Regions from separate parts of the Homo sapiens genome. Here regions 1, 2 and 4 are each linked to region 3. Evidence: promoter capture Hi-C in human tissues and cell types (Jung and others, 2019). All regions are on one chromosome and are shown on one strand. The core of a region is centred on a gene start or on the middle of the fragment in contact, and the rest is flanking DNA. Distances in the headings are between cores, read along the strand shown.

What was found. Contacts are between HindIII fragments. The study calls those that stand out against the background at their distance.
Region 1: a fragment that was not itself captured here is called in contact with the fragment with the promoter of MYOF in region 3 in 1 of the 25 tissues and cell types used here (H1 embryonic stem cells).
Region 2: a contact is called between a fragment that was not itself captured here and the fragment with the promoter of MYOF in region 3, in 1 of the 25 tissues and cell types used here (H1 embryonic stem cells).
Region 4: a fragment that was not itself captured here is called in contact with the fragment with the promoter of MYOF in region 3 in 2 of the 25 tissues and cell types used here (lymphoblastoid cells and mesendoderm cells).

Annotation. Positions count from the first base shown.
Region 1 is chr10:92,985,875-92,992,262 of GRCh38, reverse strand. All of the region lies in intron 18 of EXOC6 (exocyst complex component 6), which reads right to left. Among named protein-coding and RNA genes, the nearest start is that of CYP26C1, 72 kb to the left of the region's middle. RefSeq lists an enhancer at 1,252-1,341. The HindIII fragment of the contact is 3,785 bases long and covers 30-3,814 here.
Region 2 is chr10:93,104,586-93,111,149 of GRCh38, reverse strand. It overlaps the pseudogene NIP7P1. Among named protein-coding and RNA genes, the nearest start is that of CYP26A1, 34 kb to the right of the region's middle. RefSeq lists an enhancer at 4,164-4,458. The HindIII fragment of the contact is 5,003 bases long and covers 593-5,595 here.
Region 3 is chr10:93,479,796-93,486,558 of GRCh38, reverse strand. MYOF (myoferlin) reads left to right here and starts at 4,225. Exons shown (of 54, transcript NM_013451.4): 1 at 4,225-4,452. The coding sequence starts at 4,365. The HindIII fragment of the contact is 15,058 bases long and covers 1-6,763 here.
Region 4 is chr10:93,002,830-93,009,806 of GRCh38, reverse strand. All of the region lies in intron 19 of EXOC6 (exocyst complex component 6), which reads right to left. Among named protein-coding and RNA genes, the nearest start is that of CYP26C1, 54 kb to the left of the region's middle. The HindIII fragment of the contact is 4,871 bases long and covers 1-4,655 here.

The sequences.
Region 1 (6,388 bases), core at 673-3,172, 490 kb after region 3:
AGGCTGGAGAGCAATGGAAGGATCTCGGCTCACGCAACCTCCACCTCCCAGGTTCAAGCAATTCTCATGCCTCAGCCTCCCAAGTAGCTGGGATTACAGGCATCTGCCATCATGCCCGGCTAATTTTTGTATTTTTGTAGAGACAGGGTTTCACCATGTTGGCCAGGCTGGTCTTGAACTCCTGACCCCAGGGGATCGGCCCACCTGAAGACAAATTTTTGAAATTATGCTCTAAAATTCATAGATCAAAATATACTCATTTTAACACCCACAACATTCCCCCAAATACCTCTTTACACTCTATATTCCTCTTATACTCTATTTCTGTCCATCTCTAACTACTTCCAGCCCTGAAAGAATGAATTGGGACACATCAGTTTACCACAATCCCACAGTCAACTATAAATTCCCATTCTCCCCTCTCAGGTTGTTCTCCTTCCAACAATTACCAATCATAAGGGTATGAGACAGTAACAGAAATGTCTACTCTTAAGACACACACACATACAGAGAGAGAGAGAGAGAGAGAGAGAGAGAAATAGAACGTGATCATCTTAAAGTTGAAAAATTTTTTCCTGAACTGGGAAAACCACAGGACTGCATAATACATGGCGTATTTTTACTTCCCTCAAAACTTCCCCTATCCCAATCATAGGGCTTATCAAACTTTGGCAGTCTTTTTGTTTGTTAAACAATCTTTTGAGTATGGCCTTAGAAGGCATGCAGTATCCAAATTTTTAGCTTTCTACAAGTATCACTGCTTCTGCCATGGCAGTCCCATGATATTGCCAAACTCACCCTAACTTTTGTTTTTTTTTTTTTTTTTTGAGATGGAGTCTCACTCTGTCACCCAGGCTGGAGTGCAGTGGCACCATTTCGGCTCACTGCAACCTCCGCCTCCCAGGTTCAAGCGATTCTTATGCCTCAGCCTCCCGAGTAGCTGTGACTACAGGCGTGAGGGACCATGCCCGGCTAATATTTGTGTTTTTGGTAGAGACGGGGTGTCACCATATTGGCCAGGCTGGTCTCAAACTCCTGACCTCATAATCCGCCCACCTCGGCCTCCCAAAGTGCTGGGATTACAGGTGTGAGGCACCACACCTGGCCAGACTCTGTCTTGGGAAAAAAAAAAAAAAGTTGCCAGAATCACTAATGGTTTAGACAACAGAAGTGGTTTACATATAATCATTAATTAGTAAAGTTGACAAATGTCACTCAAGCAAACTGGCTTCCCTTTCATAGATGTAGGTGGCAGACTATTATAAACAGCCATACACAAAAAGATAGCACAAAGTAGGTCTTTGTCACTCATGAATTTGTATTTAGGTTTCAATTCTTGATATTGACTCTCAGAGTCTAGTACAAGCAGAACTTCATTTGCTGAGGCACACATTTGAATAACATGTTCTGTGAAACGGGTTATGATGGGGGAAAAAATGACTCAGAGACTGAGTGCAGTCAAAGTCTCAACCTCCCTGGGGTTGGGGGAGGGAGAGCATTGGGATAAACAGATAATGCATGCTGGGCTTAATACCTAGGTGATGGGTTGACAGGGGCAATAAACCACCATGGCACATGTTTACTTATATAACAAACCTGCACATCCTGCACATGTACCCTGGAACTTAAAATAGAAAAAAAACACAGAAAAACAGTCTCAACCTTCCTAACACAACGTGGCTTTGCTTTCTTCTGTTAGTTAACATGAATGAAGTAACTCTCATTAAGGTCTACAGCTTCAATTGCATTTTATATAGGTCTTTCCTAATCCACTGGCTTCCTACTAAAACTCTCGTGTTGTTTCCTTTTAAAAGCCCTTTCATTACTACTACTTCCAACTAAGCCCTGACCGAGGGCAATTCAAAATATTGTTTTCTGCAATGTTTGACATCAGGAAAATATTTAAGTATGCTATGCTATATACAAACTTAAGACTTATAATTTATGAAATTAAATTTCTCACCAAGATTAGCCAGAACTTGGCTAACTTAGACAACTTAGTAAATGTCTAAAAGGATTAAAGTTACGAAATACAAATATGTTCATTTTCAACTAAGAAGCAAGATTTTAAAAAATTAACATCTAGTAGTGAAAATCAACTGTTTTATAACATTAAGAAAAAGCTTAATAAGAAAAAAATTCTATTTCAAAGAGTGGACCTTGACTATTTCCAAATTTTTCAAATATTTTGTCTCAAAGTTTTTTTAACTCTTTCCAATACAGGGATATATTATATTGTCAATGGTTTGTTCATGTTGATTTTTGTATACCTGGAATTAACTCATAACAATGGATATAATATAAAAATGGATATCAAAATATGTCATAGAAATACCACTTTGATTCCCACAGAAATAACTACAACATAAAGAACTTTTTGAAAATACTCGATATTCAAGTGCCAAACTTTCAAAATCTCTAATGCAAATTTATCTAAAACTGATCCCATTATCTGTCCCTGCCTCCTTAAACTGACAATAACAATTTGAGTTTTTGGATGGCCGGTCAGTTTTACTTCTGAATATCACTTCTGTATGTTGAATTATATGGTTCATCAGCAGGAAGTCTGTTAGCAAGCTTAATAAGCACTCAATGATTATTATATCGAGTGAGTAAAAAGGGCAAATGAAAGCCTAAGGGTCTGTGTCTTCAACAGGACAAAGTATTTCTCCTTAATGTTGGGAATTTGCAACAGTTATTCTGGTGCTAAAGGGTCTTTTGTTTTGATCACTACTAAATTTACAGTTGAGTCTAGAGAGCTGTGGTTTTAGTTACTGTATTTTTCCTTCACTGAGGTGTGCAAGAAATGAGTAAAGTATAAATACAAATATTTCTAATCAGTACTGGTATCATCTTTACTAAACTCTCATACAGATATTTTCCAAGTTTCTGCCTGAGAATAATAGATTGCACCTTCACTTCAAAACTAGAAAGTATTCTCTATTTGACAAATTTCAATTTGGAAATTGATTTTTTAGGCAGTATACTTTTATACGCTTTATACAAACAAGAAAATGACCTTCATGTTGTCCATTTCTTCACTCTTTCATACTTAACAAAACACTTATCAAGCAACTACTTTGTGTAAGACACTGTGTTAAGTATTACCGAATATACAAAGATGAATAGATGTAGTTCCTGACATAAGAGGTGTAAGTTCTACAATAAGGAAAAGAAGGCAAGTCTACAAACAGCAGTAGTATAAAATAAAAACAGGACCATAAAAGCAAGACAAAGTATCCACATGCAGTTAAGTGGAATCAGCAAAGGCTTTGTGAAAGAGGTTGCATTAGAATGTCTTTGGGAAGAGATCCAGGATTTTTACAGTTATAAATAAAGCTAAGACAGAAAATCCAAGATAGATCCAAGACACAATGAATATGCCAGTTTGGATGCACATGTTTAGTAATGGTCAGAAATGCGTGTGTGTGTGTGTGTGTGTGTGTGTGTGTGTGTGTGTGTATTTTTTGTAGAGATGGGGTTTTGTCATGTCAGCAGTGATCTTGAACTCCTGGCCTCAAGTGATCCACCTGCCTCGGCCTCCCAATATGTTGGGATTACAGGCATGAGCCACCGTGTCCGGCCTCAGAAATATATGTGGAAAGAGGCTGAGATAATTTTCTTTTTGCTAGCCTGTGGAATTTCTACTTAATTCAATAGATAATCAAGAACCCCTGATGTTTCTGAATAGGGAAATAAAATTAGACTGTGCTTCAGAAAGAATAATCTAGCACTGGTATATAGGATGGACTGAAGTAAGGAGACACTGTTGGTAGAGACCAATTAGAAGACAATTACATTAATCAAAACTTGAACTTCAGTAACAGGAATAAGAACAGAAAGAAGAGGATATAGGTTAGGAACACTTGCATTTCAAATGCTAGATAAGATTTTGTTTTTCCCTAAGAAGAATTTTCAATATTTATACATTCAAAGAATACTTGTTAGTTCTTATTCTGTCAAGAGCTCACAAGTAAAGGTGAAAAAGACAAATACGGAAAAAAAGCAAAATACGATAAAGCCGTAAAAAAGGTAAGAGCTAAGGCAATTCAGAAGACCAATACTGGGCTGGGATGAGAAAGAAATACCTGCACTGGGTCATGAATCACACTGGGTCATGCACTGGGTTAGACTTCTACGAGTGCAGTTTGGGATCAGGGTAGTAGAGAAAAAGCATTCAGGAAAAGCATAAACCATCTTTGAAACAAGTAACGATAACAACTAATATTTTTTGAGTATTTATTATATGCCAAGCACTTTTCTAAACATTTTAGGTATACTATTTCATTTAAGCTCACAAAAATCTGTAGGGTATATGTTGCCACATACCTCATTTTACAGATGAGGAAAGACCACAGAGAAGTTTCCAAATGCACCTTAATATTAAGATGCATTTGAGGTGAGTGCAGTGCTTTTACAATCTAGTCTCAGAGAATCTTGACTGCTTCACAAACAACTAATATTACCTTCAAATTTAGGTTTCCACAAAACTAAAAATTTATCAAGGATGTTGCCAAAGTAATTAGCCTTTAATTTAAATACCTAAGCAGAGAAAAATAAGCCTGCAGGAAATTCATTATTTTCTAATGTACATGCTAGCTTTAGTTTATATCTACTTACCGACATGGCTGCATGATCATTGTTGTTAGTCTGAGAAGGAAGTCAGCAAGGCAATCAAATAAAAAAGGAAAATGTATTCTAATCACAGCAGAATCAGTGTTTAAAGTAGCAAAAGGGAATATACTCTAAAACAAGCAAGTTCTTTCTGTGTTTGTTGCTAATTTAGAGGCATTCATCTATCACATAAATGTGACCATAATTTTTTATTTTGAAGATTTAGGCATGAGTTTTTACATCCATACTAATTAGACAAATCCTCCTCCAAACTTTTGTCTCTCTCATCAAGTTGTCTAGTCAGAATTAAAAAACCAAGAGCTTTAGCACTTATGTCTACTGAATAAGCAAATTTAGAACACATCAGTTCTTTGACAAGGTTCTGTGCTACAGAGCAGTGATTCTCAAATATTAAGCAACAAATGCAGCTTGTTAAGCTTCAAAAATTTTAGTTGTTAGGTCTAGGGCCAAGCACTGGAATCTAAATATTTAACAAGAAGCTCTTCCCACAGATGATTTTAATACAGAAAGAAATGTCAATTTCTTCAAAAACGACAAAACTATAGAGAATATATTATTCTGAAGATGCTTAGGATAAGTCTACTTCTTCACATAATCTGCTAATACAGCTTAAATAAATTACTCGAGGAAAGACGGCACACTAAATTATTTTACAGCTAATTATTTAAATGTTTTGTCTCCCCTAAGGAGTGAATAGCAAGTCAAAGTAAAAACTAAATCACTGGTCTCAATTTAAATACATATATGCCCCTGCCGTAGTTCTGTACTAATTATAAGGTACTGGCTTATTCCTTAAAAACATTAAGGATTAAACATTAATTCCATAAATAATAAGAATTAATTAAACTATCCTTAAAGTACTATTTAATTTTTTAAATTACCTAATTTACTTTTCAAATTTTAATAATAAAATATATGGTATTCAAGTACTTTTTTTTTTTTTTTTAGAAAAAGATATTTACCCAGATATGTGGATTTAACTTTATTATATTAGGTCAATGAAACCAGAATTTATGTATTAGTGGAAGCTGAACTTCCAGTATCGCCTAGACTGAAGGTCCCCCTCCATATGGGAAGCTGCCCTCTTCACCAAATACACAATGAGTAAAGGAGAAACCACAAGCAGAAATGGAAGAAGCAGATACTCACTAGCCAGGCTGGTCAACCTAATTAACCCTAGTAGGCAGTGGGACAGCAGTTGTGTTAACCAGACAAAGAACTCTTCTGGAAGACTGGAATAGACCCTAGATAAACACTAACTTTTTTCTAGATTAACTTCGAATAAATTTTATTTGCATTAGTAAAATTATCCCACCATCATAGTTATTTTATTCAACTATATTTTCCACATTCTTTAATCTTTCAAAGTGTATATAAAGATGTCTTAGGAGATATAAAGGCCACAAAGTTAAGATGAAATTCAGATAAAATTTAGTAACCTAGTCAATAAAAGTCAGTCAACAACATTCAACATATAACTACCATGTATGTCACAGGATGTGATAATGAAAGTATCACAGTTCACAATATATCATTTTTACATGAATTAGATTCAATAAATCACATCAACATTAATCAATGCCATTATAAATTTTTAAAAATTAACATTCAAGTAAGAAAAACCAATTTTTAAGGATATATATATATATACAATATATGGTTATATTTTCATTTGATAGGGAAAACACATAAATGTATTCAAAGCTGCCTACGTCATAATTTAAAAATTGCAATCCTTGTATTTTTCAATTCT
Region 2 (6,564 bases), core at 1,845-4,344, 370 kb after region 3:
CAGCAGTCAAAAGGGACAAACTGTAGTACACCTATCAGCATGGATAAATCTCATAAAAACATTAGGCAGAACAAAAGACTTCAGATCCAAAAGAGTACACACTGCATTGATATAAAGTTCTGGAACAAGCAAAGCTCATCTACAGTTAACGAAAACAGTGGTTGACTAAAAGAGGAATTGACTCCACATAGATATGAGGAAACTTTCTAAGGTGATAGAAAAGTTTACTTTCTTGATTGTGATGGTGATTATACAAATGTGTTCATCTGACAAAACTCATTGAGCTGTATACTTAAAATGTGTGTGATTTAAGGTATGTAAATTCATACCCCCCAAAAATTGTTTTTTTTAAAAAAAGAGGATGAAAATGTGCAATGGTTAAGCCACTGTGGAAAGCAATTTGGCAGTTCTTCAAAAAGTTAAGAATAGAATTATCATATGACCCAGCAATCCCACTCCCAGGTGTATTCACAAAAGAATTGAAAACAGGTACTGAAACAAACACATAGGCACGCATGCTCATGGCCACAGCATTCACAATATCTGAAAGGTGGAAACAACCCAAATGTCCATCAGCAGATACATGAATCACAAATCATGGCATATACATTAAAGGAAATCAAAATAGTGCACCCAAAACCAAAAATCTGACGTATTTTGAGATAGCTGTTCAGAGGGCTTGCAAACAGAAGTAGGCCTGCAAAGCTGCCTTTTGTGGAAGAGACTTGGCATCTGTAGAGAAAATCTGCACAGATGCAGCCAGGCTTTTTCTGAGGCCTTCCTTTGTCTAATCTAGGAAAGATTAACTGAGAGTCTGACACCTTTAAAAGTCTGGAAGAGCCAGGCATGTTGGCTCACGCCTGTAATCCCAGCACTTTGGGAGACCAAGGTGGGTGGATCACCTGAGGTTGGGAGTTCGAGACCAGCCTGACCAACATGGAGAAACCCCGTCTCTACTAAAAATACAAAACTAGCTGGGCATGGTGGTGTATGCCTGTAATCCCAGCTACTCGGGAGGCTGAGGCAGGAGAATCGCTGGAACCTGGGATGTGGAGGTTGCAGTGAGCCGGGATCGTGCCACAGCCTGGGCAACAAGAGCGAAACTCCACTGAAAAAAATAAAAATAAAAATAAAAAAATAAAAGTCTGGAAGACACATTTGCCATCTATTCTTTCTGAGGGCTGCTACCTGTGAAGTTTCATTTACATTACAAGACCACGTATGCTAGCCATGCCTCCCCTTCTCCCCCTCCCATAACCTGTTTTGCCATAATCCAAGCCGTTATTCTTTCTGCAACCTCAAGATGTTGTATAAGCTTCTGAACCCTATTGAGGGGTTGGGGTAATTACTCTGTGGTTTTCTCCCATGTGCACATTAATAAATCTGTGTGCCTTTTCTCTTATTAATTTGCCTTTTGTCAGTTGATTTTTCAGCAAAATTTCACAGGGCAAAGGAGGAGTTTTCCCTTGGCCCTTACAACACAGAATGAAAGAAATATCATTTGGCAATAAAAAGGAACGAACTACTGATACATACTACAGCATGGGTGAGCACTGAAATTGAAAACATTATGTTAAGTGAAAGAAGCCAGACACAAAAAATCACATATCATAGGATCCTATTTACATGAAATATCCAGAATATTTAAATCCATAGAGAAGGCACAGGCCAAGGACTGAGGGAGGGGTAATAGGTTTCCTTCTGGGGTGATAAAAATGGGGACTAGACAGAGGTGGTGCTTGCACCACATTATGAATATACTAAATGCCCCTGAATCGTTCATTTTTCAATGGTTACTTTTATGCTATTTGAATTTCACATCAATAAAAAGAGATTTCTTTCTACTTCCAACCAAGAAAGAGTAATGGAAACCAGATTTACCTCCATGCCTGAAACAACCAAAAAGAATGGACAAAATATATGAAACGGTCGTTTCCAGGACACTTGGTAACAGGCAACAAAGGACAGTGATCCCTGCGTGATAAGGAACAAATGACGGGAAGCCTATGACCGCCCCAGCTTACGGACTTGAAAGAGTTTCCAGGCCACAGCACATGGAGGAGTAATTCAAGCAGAATCCAGCAGACCCCTCAATCGAGGAGACACAGCTAAGAGTCTGGAAAGACCCAGACAGTAAGAGGAATATAGTAACTATAGGAATATAAAATATCTTATTAAACAAAAAAACAAGATGTAACTCAGAATGTCTGGCATCCAATTAAAAATTACCAGGTAAAATAAAGAAGCTAAAAAATGTGATCCAAAATGAGGAGAAAAATTACCAGTTTAAACCAACCCAGAACTAATGCAGATGTCAGAATTAGCAGAGATAGACATTGTAACAGTTATTATAACTATATTTTATGTGTTCGAAAAGTTAAGCAGAGACAAGGAAGATAATACCAGAGGGCTGGGAGAAGACACGCAAACTGAACTTCTACAGATGCAGACTACGATGTCTGAGGTGACAAATAGTGTGGGCTGCGTGCAGTGGCTCATGCCTATAATCCTAGCACTTTGGGAGGCTGAGGCTGGCGGATCACTTGAGGTCAGGAGTTTGAGACCAGCCTGGCCAACATGGTGAAACCCTGTCTCTACTAAAAATAACAAAAATCAGCCAGGCGTGGTGGCACGTGCCTGTACTCCCAGCTGCTCAGGAGGCTGAGGTGGAAGGATAGCTTGAACCTGGAAGATGGAGGTTGCAGTGAGCTGAGATCACACCATTGCACTACACTCTGGGTGACAGAGCAAGACTCCGTCTCAAGAAAAACAAAAAGGAAAAAAAAATACTGTGGATGGGATTAATAGCGGATGAGACATGCAGAAGAAAATAGTAAATTCAAATAGATAGCAATAAAAACTACCCAAAATGAAACAAAGAAAAGAGAATTTTAAAAATGCAAACAGCATCAGTGAGCCATGAGATGACTTCAAGCAGTCCCCAAAGGAGAGGAAAGAGAGAAAGGAAAAAATAATTGAAGAGAATTATTGGCGGCCGGGTGCGGTGGCTCAAGCCTATAATCCCAGCACTTGTGGGAGGCCAAGGCAGGCGGTTCACGAGGTCAGGATATCAAGACCACTCTGGCTAACATGGTGAAACCCTGTCTCTACTAAAAATACAGAAAATTAGCCGGGCGTGGTGGTGGGTGTCTGTAGTCTCAGCTACTTGGGAGGCTGAGGCAGGAGAATGGCATGAACCCAGGAGGTGGAGCTTGCAGTGAGCCGAGATTGCGCCACTGCAGTCCAGCCTGGGTGACAGAGCGAGACTCCGTCTCAAAAAAAAAAAAAAAATTATTGGCTAAAATTTTACAAAATTTGATGAAAAGTATAAATCCACAAATCCAAGGAGCTCAACAAACTCCAAGCACAAGGAATTTGGAAGTATATTATAATCAAAATGCTCCCAACCAGTGTTAAAGAGAAAATCTTAAAAAGCATTCAGAGGGAAAAAAAACCCCACATTATGTACAGAGAAACAGAGGTGGGACAGCAATAAATGTCTTGTTAGAAACAATCGAAAAAAGTAAGACAGTGGAGCAGTATCTTTAAAATACTGAAATAAAAAAAACTATTAATCTAAAATTCTCTACTTGGTAAAAAATGTCTTTCAAAAACAAAAGTAAAATAAAGACTATTAGGCAGACAAAAGCTGAAAGACTTAATTAGAACAGACCCACATTACATGAAAGGTTTTTTTAAAAGTTCAGGTTTCCCTGCCAATGGGGCATGAGGATCCGGTGTTCCATTCTAGCGGGAAAATGTGGACTTGGCTGAAGAGCAGGCCCATATAATGTTTGAGAAGACCATGAAATACATCAGGGAGAATCTGCTGCCACTTGACAGGCCCGACGGCACCTACGCTATGTGAGTGAGAAGATTCTGAAGTTGGCTGCCAGTATCTCCAGGGACAAGCTGGTGTTGCTGGGAACCTGCTTCGGAAAATTCACTAAGACCCACAGGTTTCAGTTGCACATCACAACTCTGGATTACCTTGTACCCTATACCAAGTATAAAGTGCGGATAAAGCCTAGAGCTTCTTCCTGGAGCAGGTCAGTCCTTCCCGTATGGGAACCATCTGTTGAAATATGGTCTGGGTTGAATCACCAAAAAGACTTCTCAGTACCAGGCAGTGGTGGTGTGCTCCATGGCAGACATTCCTTGGGTTTTGGGGTGGCAGGAAAATCTACACAAGACTGCAGAAAAGTGGACCTCCTGGTGACTGTGGTATTTCATCATGCAGACACTGGGAAATATGTGAGACATGAAATGACGTTGACTTAAAACGAAGTCAAGGCCTCACAGCTGTGTGGAAGGGCCAAGCTTTGTTCCCTGTATTTGTGCAGACTCCACTATCATGTTGAACTTTGTCAACACTGTGACCTCTTCAGGGACTCCTCTGTTTACTATTCTCTCTACCACTGACAGATGCAGGCTGGATTCTTACTGTACAGAAATGACTTTAAAATGGAGTTTCAGATCTTTGTGTTTGCACTAAATAGAATGTTTTGTTTTGTATTTGAATCAGGCGGCTTCTTGTTCTGAATAACAGGTTCAAAATCATTGGAACTGAGGACAAGAATATCTGTGATAACACTTTGTTTTCCAAACTCATAAGAGCACAATGGATTTTCTCTGTTGTTTATTCACATGATGAAAGATAGATATTGACACATCAGAATAGTAGGCCACTCCTGGGATTTTGCATATGAAATTTGGCTAAAATAACAAGAGAAATTTATTCAGCTATTTTTCTATACAGTAAATTCTGTATGGTGAGGAAGAAAAACTTGGGTTCAAACCCCAGTTCTGCTGCTGACCAGCTATATGGCCTTGGATGAGTCATTCAACTTTAATAAGCATCATTTTCTTCTTCTGTTTGAAAAAACCACAAAACTTTTAAAAGCTTTAATCATTTACCTGAGAATGGTTTTTAGAATTAGAAATCAGGCCGGGCATGGTGGCTCATGCCTGTAATCCCAGCACTTTGGGAGGCCAAGGTGGGTGAATCACCTGAGGTCAGGAGTTCAAGATCAGCCTGGCCAACGTGGTGAAACCTTGTCTCTACTAAAAATACAAAACATTAGCCTGGCATGGTGGCACACGCCTGTAATCCCAGCTACTCAGGAGTCTAAACCAGGAGAATCGCTTGAACTCGGGAGGTGGAGGCTGCAGTGAGCTGAGATCGTGCCATTGCACTCCAGCCTGGGCAACAAGAATGAAACTCCGTCTCAAAAAATAAAAATAAAATTAGAAATCATAATTGTAAAGCATCTAGCACAGTGCCTGGGAAATGTTACGTATTGAATAAATGGTAAGAGTTATTTTTCTAGTACATATATTATGTATTTCTATTACGAGGTGTGGGGTCTTATGAGTGTCATTTGATTACATTATCTTGTTTTTTTGTTTTTTTTTTTGTTTTTTTTTTTTTGTTTTTTTTAATGAGAAAGAGTCTCGTTCTGTTGCCCAGGCTGGAGTGCAATGGCGCCATCTTGGCTCACTGTAACCTCCACCTCCTGGGTTCAAGTGATTCTCCTGCCTCTGCCTCCCGAGTAGCTGGGATTACAGGCGTGCACCACCATGCCCAGCTAATTTTTTTGTATTTTTAGTAGAGACGGGGTTTCACCATATTGGCCAGACTGGTCTCAAACTCCTGATCTTGTGATCCACCCGCCTTGGCTTCCCAAAATGCTGGGATTACAGGTGTGAGCCACCACGCACAGCCTACGTTATCTTGTTTTTTACGAGCTGTTTCCTCGCTCTTTTTCTTGGATAGAATGAGCCCAGGCTGAAATGTTTTTTTTATCACTTTGATTTCATGAAACATAATTTATTCACAGGAAAAAAAAGTTCAGGCAGAAGGTAAGTGATACCAGATATAACTATGTATCTACACAAAGGAACAAAGAACACCAACAATGTTAGCTATATAAGATTTGTTCTTAATACGCAAATATCTTTAAAAATAATTAATAGTTTTGGGGTTTGTTTTTTTTAACCCTTATTCTATCTTTATTTTTATTAATAAGAATGAAGAACATAAACAGAAAACATGTAAAAATAGAAGTAATTATACAATGTAAAAGATTCCCTCTTCAAAAAAGACAAAGAGCACAAGTTTTTAAAATTATCAGTTTACACCCTCAAAATATGGAACAATTTCTTTAACACAACCATACTCAATATCATTGGCAATTAAGTGAAAAGTAAACAATTCACACAAAGCTGGTGAAAATGTAAACTGGCACAGCTTTGCTGTAAGAAAAAAATCAAGTGAATATTAAAAGCTTTGGAAAATAACCTTTCATACATCCAACAATATTTATTTGTTAGGCCCCGTATGAGGTTTTAAATATGTTAACAAGACTGACCTTGTCCCGGTTCATGATCCAGTGGTGGAATGATGAAAGACAAAATTTTTAAAATAATAGCTAATTACAAAAGATGTTATGGAAGGAAGAGTCTACTTAAGAAAAGGGTAGTTGGGCAAAGCCTGAGAGGTATCCTGTATACTATAGATTGTACTAAATGCTATACATATATTGATAATAGACAGGTTTAATT
Region 3 (6,763 bases), core at 2,976-5,475:
GAAATAAATGGGAAAATAAAGTAAGCACAAAGATTGAAAAGGAAGAAACACCCCAGGCGTTATTTGCAGATTCTATAATTGTAATGGTAGAAAATCCATGAGAATTTACTGCTGATTACACTCTCACCAGCGGTGTATGAGACTTCCCGTTGTTCCACATTCTTGTCAAGCTTGGCAATGTTAGATTTTTACATATTTTCCCATCTGGTGAGTATATAATAATAACTCATTGGAGTTTTAATTTGCACTTTTCTAATTACCAATGAGGTTGAGTACCTTTTCATATTTACATTTCCTAATTTATGAAGTGCCTATTCAAATCTTTTACCTATTTTTCCATTGAGTTCTATGTGTTTGTCTTACTAATTTGCTGGAGCTGTTTATGTACTCTGAATACTAGTCCTTTGTAGGTTGTGATTTTAATATAATTGAATTTATCAATATTTCCTTTATGATTTGTACATTTTTTCATATTAAGAAATCCTTTCCTATCCTGGGGTCATATAGATATTCTTCTATGGCTTTTTTTGTTGTTTGATTTTTTTCTTTACTTATTTGTTTTAGAGAGGAGGTCTTGCCATGTTGTCTAGGCTGGATTTCTATTTCTGGCCTCAAGTGATCCTCTTGCCTCAGCTTCCCAAGTAGCTGGGACTACAGGTGTGAGCTGCTGCCACCACCTGGTTAGATTTTTTTTTTTTTTTTTTTAGAGACAGGGTCTCACTCTGTTACCCAGGTTGGAGTATAGTGGCACAATCATGGCTCACTGCCACCAGGACTTCCCAGGCTCAAGTGGTTGTCCCACCTCAGCCTTTCAAGTAGCTGGGACCACAGGTGCATGCCACCACACTCGATTAATTTAAAAAATTTTTTTTAGAGGCAGGGTCTCACTATGTTGCCCAGGCTGGTCTCAGACTCACCTCAGCCTCCCCAAAGTGTTGAGATTACAGGTATGAACCACTGTGTCTGGGCTGAAACATGTTTTATCTTGCTTATTTAGATTTATACTCCACCTGTAATTGATTATGTATTATGTAAGGTTGGAAGTCATTTGTCTTTTTCTCCCACATGAATAGGTAAAAGGCAAATTAAAACTCCAGTGAGATGCTATTATATGCTCACCAGAAGGGCAAATGTAAAAAATCTAACATTGGTTAAGTATGACAAAAATTTAGAACAACAGGAAGTCTCATACACTGCTGGCAAGAGTACCATTGTGGAATATAATTTGGAATTACCTTGTAAAGGTGAAGAAATGCATACATTCTCTGGCCCAGCAAGCAATTCCACCCATAGATTAGACTCTAAATAGACTCATGCACATTTGTGCCAGAACAGTCTTGGACTGTTCAGAACAGCACTGTTTGTAATAGCCCCATTCCCTGAACTGTCCAAATGTCTGGCAGTAGTAGAATGAATTAATCAAATCTGGAGGCCAGGCGCAGTGGCTCATGCCTGTAATCCCAGCACTTTGGGAGGCTGAGGCAGGCGGATCACGAGGTAAAGAGTTCGAGAACATCCTGGCCAACATGGTGACACCCCATCTCTACTAAAGATACAAAAATTAGCCGGGCGTGGTGGTGTGCACCTGTAATCCCAGCTACTCAGGAGGCTGAGGCAGGAGAATTGCTTGAACCCGGGAGGCAGAGGTTGCAGTGAAACGAGATCGCACCACTGCACTCCAGCCTGGGCTACAGAGCAAGACTCTGTCTCAAAATAAATAAATAAATAAAATGTCAGAAACTCATACAATGAAATGCCATATAGCAACAAGAGTGAAGGAAGTAGAGCTACATGAATGAATTTCACAATATAATACTGAGAAAAAAGAAGTCAAACACGAAAGAATCCATTCTGTATGAGTCCATTTCTATAAAGTCATAATACAGCAAAGAATTCACAAAGTATGAACACATGTATGTGTGTACCTATATATATGAATATATGTGTTGTATGTAAAGTTCATAACATACAAAAGAATTTATATCACCAAACAAAGGTCATGAGCAAGCAAACCTAAACTGTTTTGTTGTTGTTGTTTTCGGTAAAAACTACAAAGAAAAGCAAGGAAATCATTACCATAAAAATCAGGAGAGTGGGCCAGGCATGGTGGCTCATGCCTGTAATCCCAGCACTTTGGGAGGCCGAGGTGGATGGATCACCTGAGGTCAGGAGTTTGAGACCAGCCTGGCCAACACGGTGAAACCCTGTCTCTACTAAAAATACAAAATTAGCCGGGTGTGGTAGTGCACGCCTGTAATCCCAGCTACCTGGGAGGCTGAGGCAGGAGAATTGCTTGAACCCGGGAGGTGGAGGTGGCAGTGAGCCGATCACCCCACTTCAATCCAGCCTGGGCAACAAGAGTGAAACTCCATCTAAAAAAAGAAAAAAAAATCAGGAGAGTGGTTACCTCTGGGAGAAGGAGGTGGATATGATATATGGGGTATTCCAGGGGCTTCTGGAGGACTGGCAATGTTCTGTCTTGACCTGGATGCTTGTTAAACTGTCACGTTTATGTAGTATGCATTTTTCTGTAAATATATTTCACAGTAAAAATGGCAAATAGAAAGCAGCCAGATAAAATAAAAGTAATAATCTCTATATTCCACTAAAACTGCCAACATGTCCACTAAATACAATAATGAACACAGCACTGGGTAATTGGTTCTTTGCTTTAAGCCTTGGAGAAACTCGTGGAGACAGAAGAATTCTTGTAGGTTAAGTCATGCTTATTCAATGTACTTGAAATGTTTATTTACAGGTGGGTCTGCTTGATGTGTGTTCTAAAGCAAAAAGAAGCCCAATGTTTCTTCATCCCAAGTTTTAGCCTTTTCTTCTGAAATATAACGAGATCCTGATTTAAAGTCAGCCTGCACTAACAGAAACGCTGTGAGACCACAAATAAGCATGAACTTCTTACATGTGCAAATTACTGTGTGCTTTGTGCCAGCTCCTATGCTATGACCTTTATCTTATAACAGCCTTTATCCCCAGTTCATAGATGAGGAAACTGAGGAAGAGAGGGGTTAAGAAACTTGCTCGCCAGCACGGTGGCTCAAGCCAGTAAAGCTCAAGCCAGTAAAGCTCAAGCCACGGAGGCCGAGGCGGGCGGATCACAAGGTCAAGAGATCGAGACCATCCTTGCCAGCATGGTGAAACCCCGTCTCTACTAAAAATACAAAAAAAAAAAAAATTAGCTGCGTGTGGTGGCGCACGCCTGTAGTCCCAGCTACTCGGGAGACTGAGGCAGGAGAATCGCTTGAACCCGGGAGGCAGAGGTTGCAGTGAGCCAAGATCGCTACACTGCACTCCAGCCTGGTGACAGAGCGAGACTCCGTCAAAAAAAAAAAAGAAAAGAAAAGAAAAGAAAAGAAACTTGCTAAGATGACGTAGCTCAGGGTGGTGAGGCAGAGTCTCACACTCAGATCTGGCTGACTAACCCCAGGCCGCCTCTTGTGATCTCAGCCAAGCTGCACTGTCTTCATGCACCCTCTGGGACAGAAAGACACCATGGGCAGCTGTAGGTCCAGAAACAGTGGGGAGTCACTTCTCCATTTTCACTGAAGGCAATTGGCAGCATTTGAAGAGCCGGGAAAACTTAGGCGCCCAGCTCTCACCTCTGAAGGGGTTTTGAAGAAATTCTATGTTCAGTCCTTTATATATATATATATATATATATATATATATATATATATATATATATATATATATATATAATTATTTATACATATATGTAATTATTTATATATCCCATGCCTGGATCGCGTTTACTTGAAATAAACGCTGTCATTCGTTTGCCGTCCAGTAAGAGGCACCCTTTAGCTGCTTTAAAAAAGCTGAACATAGGGTTACTGAGTGGGTGTGTTCAATGGCGTGAGAAGTAACAGCGAAAAGTCAAAAGCAAATAATGACTAAAGTTTTAAAACTCCTTGAAACTCAGAAAAGAATGAAAGCAGTGACGGAAAAATCAATTAATTCAGTTTCACGAACCATTGCTAAAAGGCAGCAACATTTTAGTGGTTTCCTGACCTACCCGTATTTCTTAGCTCCAAATTCATGTTGGTTTCATTTGTCGCACGGAATTATTTTTAGTTTAGGGTTTGTCCTTTTCACTTCCACATTTCCCGAATTCATAAGTCTGTGCCTGCGGCACTGCGTAGACGCGGGGAGTTCGGTATCAGTTTACACGTTGCCTTCAGTAAAATCCGCCAGAGGTCCACCCATTTTGCCTTTTCCCCTTCCTTGCCCTGGGAGAAATCCTCCCTTCACTGGGAGAGAACTTCTCTCCCAGGGCGGTGCGACCCGGAGCTCCAGCGCCCTAGTCTCCACTTCGTTTGCTGAAACTTGCTTTCTACCAGCTAAGAACCATGCTGCGAGTGATTGTGGAATCTGCCAGCAATATCCCTAAAACGAAATTTGGCAAGCCGGATCCTATTGTTTCTGTCATTTTTAAGGGTAAGAAAAAGTTTTCTTCTTTTTCTGAAGTCCTGTTTTGGAATGTTAGTTTCTTGAGTCACCTTCTTGAAAAGTCTGCATTTAGACAGCTGATGAAGCCAAGTCTCTCCAGCAGCGTTTGTTACCTGCGCAGGACAGGGGAGAGGACCCGTTTCTGGGGAAGGCATTTAATTTTCTCCAGGGCTTGAGACTCATGGAATGACCTGATGTTTTAGCTCTAAGAGTGTGATTTCTGTAAGCTCTTGGCAGAAAACGTATTTGCGAATCACTAAATTTCAGGTATCAACAAACATCTGTATTGGTTCAAAGTAAGTTTCAGTAGTCTTAGATGCATTTTTTCTCTGCCTGTGAGAAATGGGTAAAGGAGGAAGAAGAGCAATTAAATTGTTGGAGACACCATTACTCCTTGAACCAGCCTGACGCTGCTTTGATTGTCACTGGGTTTCTGGGAGGTGGGATGGGTGAAGTTCATAGTTTTATTGAGTTTTCCTGCCCTTTTGTGCCTTTGTAATTGTTTTTATATCTAAACTGTTGGGGAGCTTTTTTTGTACATTCTGTAGCTTTTAAATTGCTCATTGAGGAAAGAACTCTGGACAGCTAGTTTGCAATTTGGGGATCTAGTTCTATCTTGCCTGCTGAATGACCTTGGGCAAGTTACTTCATTTCTCTGGGATCTCAATTTTCTTTTCTGCAAAACAGGCGAGAAGGGTTTAGACAAGATCATCTCTAAAAACCTCATGGTTGGCTGAGCACAGTGGCTCCTCAACCCTGAGCCAACTTTGGGAGGCCAAGGCAGGAGGATTGCTTGAGCCCAGGAGTTTGAGGCTACAGTGAGCCGTGATCACGCCACTGCACTCCAGCCTGGGTGTAAAAATAAATAAAAATAAAAGGCTCATGGTAATTTTAAAAGGCTATTTTTCTATGACACTTGATTGCCATTGCAGGGGAGGGGACAGGAATGCTTGGTGTCATGGTACAATTTGATGTAAGTGACTTAGTTTTGGCTAAAGTGGGGTTTCTAAATCTCAGTGTGGAGGCTTTATCTATTTTGTTTGTCATTGGTAAGACTGCCAACTCACTTCTTGGCAAGAGGGATGGGAAAGAGAGGGAAAGGCAGAGAGAGTGGGAGCATGGATAGACATGTGTTTCCTGACCATGCCTTGCTACATTTCTCGTTTCTTCCAGGAGCCTGACTGCTACTCCCTGTCAGTTCCTGAGGCATCTATACCTTTCGCCTTTCTGTTTCCCGTTTTTCCCCTTTATTTCTCTTCTTAAACCTCTCTCTCTGAGGATGAGCAAGAAAATGAAAGAAATGAAACTCAAAGCTGGCTGGCTGGGTGTGGTGACTTCTGCCTGTAATCCCAGAACTTTGGGAGGCTGAGGTGGGTGGATCACATGAGGGCAGGAGTTCGAGACCAGCCAGGCCAACATGGCAAAACCCCATCTCTACTAAAAATACAAAAATTAGCCGGGCATGGTGGCACATGCCTATAATCCCAGCTACTCGGGAGGCTGAGGCAGGAGGATTGCTTCAACCCAGGAGGAGGAGGTTGCAGTGAGCCGAGATCATGCTACTGCACTCCAACCTGGGCAACAGAGTGAGACTCCGTCTCAAAAAAAAAAAAAAAAAAAAAAAAAAGCTGGCAAATTGTTGGTTGGTTAAAAAAAAAATCTAAAGGGCAAAAATTGGATTTAAAAAAAATTTAAAAAAATTTTTTTGAATAAGACTGGGTCTTGCTATGTTGCCCAGGCTGGTTATAATTCCCTTGCTCAAACTTTCTTCCCATCTCAGCTTCCCAAAGTGTTGGGATTACAGGCGTAAACTACCACGCCCAGCTTAAAATTGGGCTCTTAAAGGACAATGAGGTTTGAAAATCTGGCTAGTGAATATCATGGACTCACGTTATGTCAGAGTTTATTTACATGTGTTAGGTTTTATTAATTTTTTGTTTTCTTGAAGCAGTTACATAATAGAGACATAATATGAAGATTTTACATCCTTCATCATTGACATATAAAGACATTAAAATATATTTGGATCAGTCCGATCATGTAATTATTTAAGTATTATAGATTATAGAGGAATTGGAGTTAATACTATATTGAAATCTGACTTGTTATTTGTCTGGAGTTTGTATGCATTGATGAAACATTTTAAATGATGAAAAATATATCTAAGTCAATGAATGCAAACAATCAATTGAAAGTGGAAAACTTCAGTTAAGTTGGCAAATATAGTCTATACAAACAATTACACATTTAACTTTAGTCTCTTTTCTGGCCTCCTTTTTTCATACAAATCGAGTGGTAA
Region 4 (6,977 bases), core at 971-3,470, 470 kb after region 3:
ATCTCATCATTTCCCTAGGGGCACCTTAGTTTCTATACCACACCAAACTACCTGTACTTCCATGCATATACCACTCTCTTTCCATGATGCTTTGATCCCTCTGCCTACAGCATCCTTCCTCTTATTTTCCATCTGGGTAAACTCTTATTTATCCTTCAATCATCGTCTTCCTTGGGAAGACTTCCATTATCCCTGCAGGTTGGCTTATGTCCTTTCTCTGTGTTCTCACTGCAACTTCCTGTGCACAGCCTAACTTCAGCACTCACTTTGCTGCCTTGTAATTGTTTATCTGTCTGGGTCTTCCCACTAAATCATGAACTCCCTGAGAGCAGGGACGGTAACTTCACTTCTACATTCTTATCACCTAGCGCAATGCCTGACTTATAATGAGTATTCAATGAAAGTTTCTTAAATGAATGAAGAAAAACAGAACCATAAATAAATTCTAAGGAATGTCATCCAGTATTGGATAGTGATATATTATGTAGCTTGTTGATTAGATTTAGAATGGTGCTGTCCAAGAGAATGTTCTGCAATAATGAAATGTAATATCCATGCTAAACTTAATTTTTGGTTTTATTTTAGTTAATTTTTTTTGCGACAGGGTCTCACTCTGTTGCCCAGACTGGAGTGCCATCACAGCTCACTGCAGCCTCCCTCAACCTCCTGGGCTCAAGCAATCCTCCCCTCTCAGCCTCCTGAGTAGCTGGGACTACAGGTGCCATCATGTCTGGTTATTTTTTTTATTTTCTGTAGAGACAGGGGGACTATGTTGCCTAGGCCAGTCTCAAACTCCTGGCCTCAAGCAGTCGTCCTGCCCTGGCCTCTCGAAGTGCTGAGATTACAGGTATGAGGCACTGCATCCAGCTTAATTTAAATTTCCTAGCCATATGTATTTATTTAACAGTGCAAATCAAGAACATAACTGTATACACTTAGTGTATTTATATAAAAGTAATTTAGGGTGGGTGAAAATACTCCTAATAGTTTCTTCAATTAAAACTAAATCATGAGCTCTTCCACTAAACAAGAAGCTCCTGGGAAGTAGTTACATACACCATACCTGTCACCTAGGAAACAGTCAATAAATGTGTGTTGAATGAATAAATAGTAATACAAATCATTTCTACTAATATTGTCTATGGTCCCAATAATTCATGGGGTCAATTTTAATCTTTTAAATTTTTAAAGAATTGATGACTAATTTTTGAAATCTCTAGAAGTACTATCGTCAAATTACTTTTTGGCTCATTCAGATTCTCATTTTGTATATAATTTGTCATATTTTGGGGATTCCTAATTCTCCTCCCTTGGACCATCTTTAAAATTTTAAAAACAATAATGCCCACTTCCCCCCCTATTATGGTGTCTTTGTTTTTGTCATTTAGCCATGCCTTTAAGGGTATTTTTAAATAACACACATTGATCCTGGTTTCCCAATAAGATATGTAAAAATCATTTCCAGACTATGAAGTGTTCTTTTTTAAGAGATTCCAAATCTTTGTTTTTTTCTCTTAATGCCTCCAATTTGACTATTTCCTTTTTAATAAACAAAATAACTTCAGGATATTCATTTCCTCTTATTTTCTGCAATAATAAATGATTTCAAATTTTCTTTTCTTTTCTTTTTTTGAGATGGAGTCTCACTCTGTTGCCCAGGCTGGAGTGCAATGGCACAATTTTGGCTCAATGCAACCCCTACCTCCCAGGTTCAAGCGAGATTCTCCTGCCTCAGCCTCCTGAGTAGCTTTGATTACAGGCATGCACCACCAGGCCCTGCTAATTTTGTATTTTTAGAAGAGAAGGGGTTTCACCATGCTGCCCAGGCTAGTCTCAAACTCCTGACCTCAGGTGATCCGCCCACCTTGGCCTCCCAAAGTGCTGAATTACAGGCGTGAGCCACCGCACCCGGCCTGATTCCAAGTTTTCAAATATTCTTAGATTAGAGAAGGAGGTGTCTGATCTTATTGGGAAGGTATATTATAACAATAGAGTAAAACTCTGCTATATCAGCCTAACTTGGAAGAAGACTAGTTTGAATCAATTTAGATGAAAGTGGGAACAAAAAATAATGTATGCGGGGTAAGCTGTGATTATAACAAAACTATCTTCCAAATTGGCAATCGATGAAGTTGGGTTTTTGTTTTGTTTTTGGAGACGGAGTCTCGCTCTGCTGTCCAGCCTGGAGTGCAGTGGTGTGATCTCGGCTCACTGCAACCTCCATCTCCCGGGTTCAAGCAATTCTCCTGCCTCGGCCTCCAGAGTAGCTGGGATTATAGGCATGTGCCACCACACCCAGCTAATTTTTTTGTATTTTTAATAGAGACGGGGTTTCATCATGTTGGCCAGGCTGGTCTTGAACGCCTGACCTCAGGTGATCCACCCACCTCGGCCTCCCAAAGTGCTGGGATTACAGATGTGAGCCATTGCGCCCAGCCGGCAATCTATGAAGTTTTAAGAGAACAAAGAATACCTGTAGGCAAAACATGAGTTATTTGTATATATAAAAAAAAAAAAATTTTTGAGTAGGAAAACAGGCCCTTCCCCTCAGGATCTATGCAAAATGTAAAGGGTTTGTTACGAGGGGGGAAGGAAAATTGCCAAGATGTCAGGCCATAAGTATTTATCTTGACTGGAAAATATAAAACCTACTCTGAAATTAAACTCAGAGGGAATTAAACTCAGAAGTCCTTGAAAAATCTTGTTCTAGGCAGACAGTTATCTTTATCATAAGGCAGAGAATGTAGATTGTTTACAATGTAGATATAGAAAACATCCATACAGGGTAGGAAGAATTGTCAGGGGGTAAAGAGGGTGGGGGAGAAAAAGGGCCCATGGAGTCATAAGAGGGAATACATCAGAAGCTTGACAAAAGACTGAAAGAAAGGGGAGGAGGCTAAGCTAAAGTTTTAAGATCTTGCTTGCAAATGACCACACAGGTGCATATAAAATGGAATAATTCTGTAACTAAATAAATGGCTGAATATGAATGCCAATATTCATTCTATTTGAAGATACTTCTTGTAATTTCATTTCTATCTAGATCTGAATATTAAAGTAGCTAGTAAGAACTCAAGTTTTGTTTAACAAACTTTGTTATTAGACAAACAAAGTATCCCATGTGAACCAGCTGTGTCGTTAGAAGGAATGACTAAGAGCACCATCTAGTGGTTTTTCTGGTGGTGAAGAACTTATGCCTGGGAATCAGGAGAGTTAGGATTCTTGGCTTTTAGATGTATTTTCTGCTGTATGCGGTCAGCAACAGTGGGATGCAAACCTCGAGGACCAACTGTTACTCTACCTTCATCACCTCATTTTTATATAAAGTAGTATCTAGTTTTCTCCATTTCTTGGAATTAAACCTGGGCAAAGTATCCTCCATCAGATAGGTTAGGTATCAAATTCAGGTATCCAAACCAGGAACAAATTCAGGTATCCAAACAGTGTAACAGCATCCAGCTTACTTTTTAAAAAGGCACTGAAATATTCTTCTCTTACCATCCAGATGATTTTGCCTTAATACTTTTATTATGGGGCACAGCCCTTTTTCAAGGCTAGAATTAGAGGTCATAGTCGCTAAAACTCTATAAACAGCATCCTTTTTTTTTTTCTTTTTTGGCTAAGCTTTCTTGTTTTGTTTTGTTTTTGAGACAGGGTCTCACTCTGTCACCCAGGCGGGAGTACAGTGGCATGATCACGGCTCACTGCAGCCTTGACCTTCCAGGCTCAAGCAATTCTCCCACCTCAGCCTCCTGAGTGGCTGGGACTACACATGTGCACCACCACATCTGAGTAATTTTAATTTTTTTTGCAGAGATGAAATCTCCCTATTTTGCCCAGGCTGGTCTCGAACCCCTGGGCTCAAGCGATTCTCCAGTCGTGGCCTCCCAAAGTGCTGGGATTACAGGCATGAGCCATTGTGCCCAGCAGGTTAAGTTTTTATCCAAAAATTAAGAAAGACCAAGGCTTTCACATTAAGAAACTTATCTACTCTCCAATAACTCACCATTGAAATAGGTGCCAGCACTCTTTAATCTGGAGCTATTCTAATGCCTTTTCTAATACCTACAGATTTCAGATGTTAAACCCTTAGGAGCTAATAACCTAACTTAGACATTTGGGCAGAATGAATTTAAAAATGTATTCTAGACCTACTCTGGATACTTCAAATATAGAATAGGTCTTTCTGATTGCCTGATGCTTGGGAAATAGTCTGTATTTTCTTAGTAACAGGAAGAATTTCTGTGACACCTTTGTAAGAACTTGTTTAGAAGACATATTAATCTTTTCTTCTATATGGTTATATCTATAAGGTATCTATATTGGTACCCAATATATAATAAGTATTTAATAAATATAAAACAAAGTACATACACTGATTCAGAACATCATTCTCATACCTTGGCAAATGCTCCTCCAAATAAGAAGACATTTATCTTGAACTTGTATAAAATTTATACTAAGATCAAAGGTTCAATGTAGCTTTCAGAGGGAGCTATTTTTGCAATTTCCAAGTATGTATTCCTGGTTATCTTCCTGACTGTCTCCAAACATGCAGTTATACTAGCATGATGGTTATGGTCAAATTAACCAAAAGTTAACCTCTATATTCATACATAGATCCTACCTAGTATTCTCATACCATATACTTTTACAAAGTTTAACAATTTATAGTCATATTTATTAATGAAGTTATTAATTACTGTTTCCCCACTGGACTTAAACTCCAAGAGGGTAAAGACCTTTTCTGTTTTGCTTACCACTGTATTCCCTCAATGCCATGCACATAATAGATATGAAGACATAATTAATATATGACTTCAAAGCCCCACACTCTTCAATGTCTTAACATTTAACTGCCTTTGAATCTTAGAACCAGGACGTTATCTTGAAACATTTATCAATTCCAAATTCCATGTGTTATGGGAAAAATTTAGGCCTCTTGATGGTTGAAGGGTTTGTCCAAGTCAACTTGCTCAAGTTAGAGGCAAAGCCAGGACTGGAAGCAAGGTCTCAACTTCCTGACATGTACTCAGACCATCTTAAGACTGATCTGAAAGCAATTTAAAAAAGAAAAGTTCTATATAAGTTCATATAATTCTATATTCCTGAACTTAGACATTGTATCCACTTTGACCAAGTATAGGTTAAAAAAGTAGAAAAACAGGAAAAGATCCAAAGAAAATTTACAAAAAGGCATGTGAAAATACCCTACAAGGAAACATTTTAAAAAATAACTACTTAGCTCAGAAAGATAAAGTTAAAAGGTCATTCTTCAGTCATCAAATATGTGAAGAATTTTTATGAAAGAAATAATGATTAGTTTTGTTTAGATCAAGGAGTTAAATGGTCTTGAGTTGAAATACAGCAGTATCAGCTGGGTCTTAACTTTCTGACAACAAAGGTAGAACTCTAGAAGAGACCAGTGTTGGTTACAGAGAGTTCCTGATTTGTTACTTTGTTAATTTAGTCAATAAACAAACATCTGTAGACCTTTTATTATGAGCATAGCACTCTGTAAGATACCTGCAATTTCAAATCTTCTATGTTGAATTTAATTAAACTATCCATCCTGGATGGTTAAATCATATCAAATTGTACCTTTACTCATTCACTCTTTTTATGTATTCCCTCCTCCAAAATGCCTGGAATCCATACTCTCCATTCCCACTGATGAAGGTTAAGCTTTTTTTGTATTTCACATGGAAAAGTTCAACAGCCTTTTAACAGGTCTTCCTGCTTTCAGTCTCTGCCTCATTCCAGTACAAATTTCTAAATGACACTAGAGTTAACATTCTATGACACAGATTTAATCATGTCATGGTCCTAATTAAAAAGCTCCATTTTGTAGTCCATCCACATATGATTATTTGAAGATTCCCTAAACATTGTCTTATCACAGTGCTTTTGTCTGTCTCATTCCCTCTGTTCAGAATGCCCTTCCCTGCTTTTGGTGAAATCTTATCCATCTCAATTTTTACTTTTTACCCAGCTCAAATTTTACTTCGGTCATAGTCAATCTTCTCAATCCCACAGCATACAGAATTAATTGCCCCCTCTCTACACATAATACATATTCTATAAACAATTAATTATGCTCTATTACAGTTATGTACCTGTCTCGTACCCAGCCAGACTATGAAATCTTTGAAGTTTATCTTTGATTTCCCAGTATATAACAAACATATAATAGGTTCTCGTTAAACATTTGCACAAATGAATCTTCCTATAAAGAAGTTGACTTAACATGGGAAAAAGTTCTGTTTCATAATTACAGACTGAAATTTTAGCTCAAGCTAATTTAACTCACAGGTACGTGTGTCACCCGTCACAAGGAATACCAAAAAAAAGAGCACCAACACATTGTTTCAAAAAACAAATGAGCACATAGATGGGTCAATGCTAATTCTTCTTCATCATCAGAAAAATAAAACGAACAAAAACAAAAAGTACATGGCTGAATGATGGTATAGAATAATTTGTCAGTAACTGAATTATTTCCACCTTTCCACCTCCCCCACTACATCTAGATGTGCTATTTGTTTCTACCTGCAGATTGACATTTTGAGGCTGAGGAAATACATGTATGATGTTTTTCACAGAGTAACAAGAATGGGAAAATAAACATTTGGATTCTGATTAAACCAAATAAAAGGAAAATCTAGCACAGAATAAAGGCCATTGTTGGTGCTTATATTTCAATCTTGTAAATGAAACTCACTTCTTATTGCTTAAATTTTATGATTTAAGCATCTTTTCTGAGTTGCCCAGCATTTCTTTGGTGGCTCATGATTTCCAATCTGAGTTCCTGATCCTTGCTACTGGACTTCCTTGGACTATGGCTCTCTTGCTAGCATATCACAGACTAGCAGGATTTTATGTTAATCCTGAGAACCAATCACAGGCTATTAAGTAAAGATTTCTGAGAGTCTTCAAGAGAAAGTGATCACTATGAGTCAATACGGATTTATGACGAA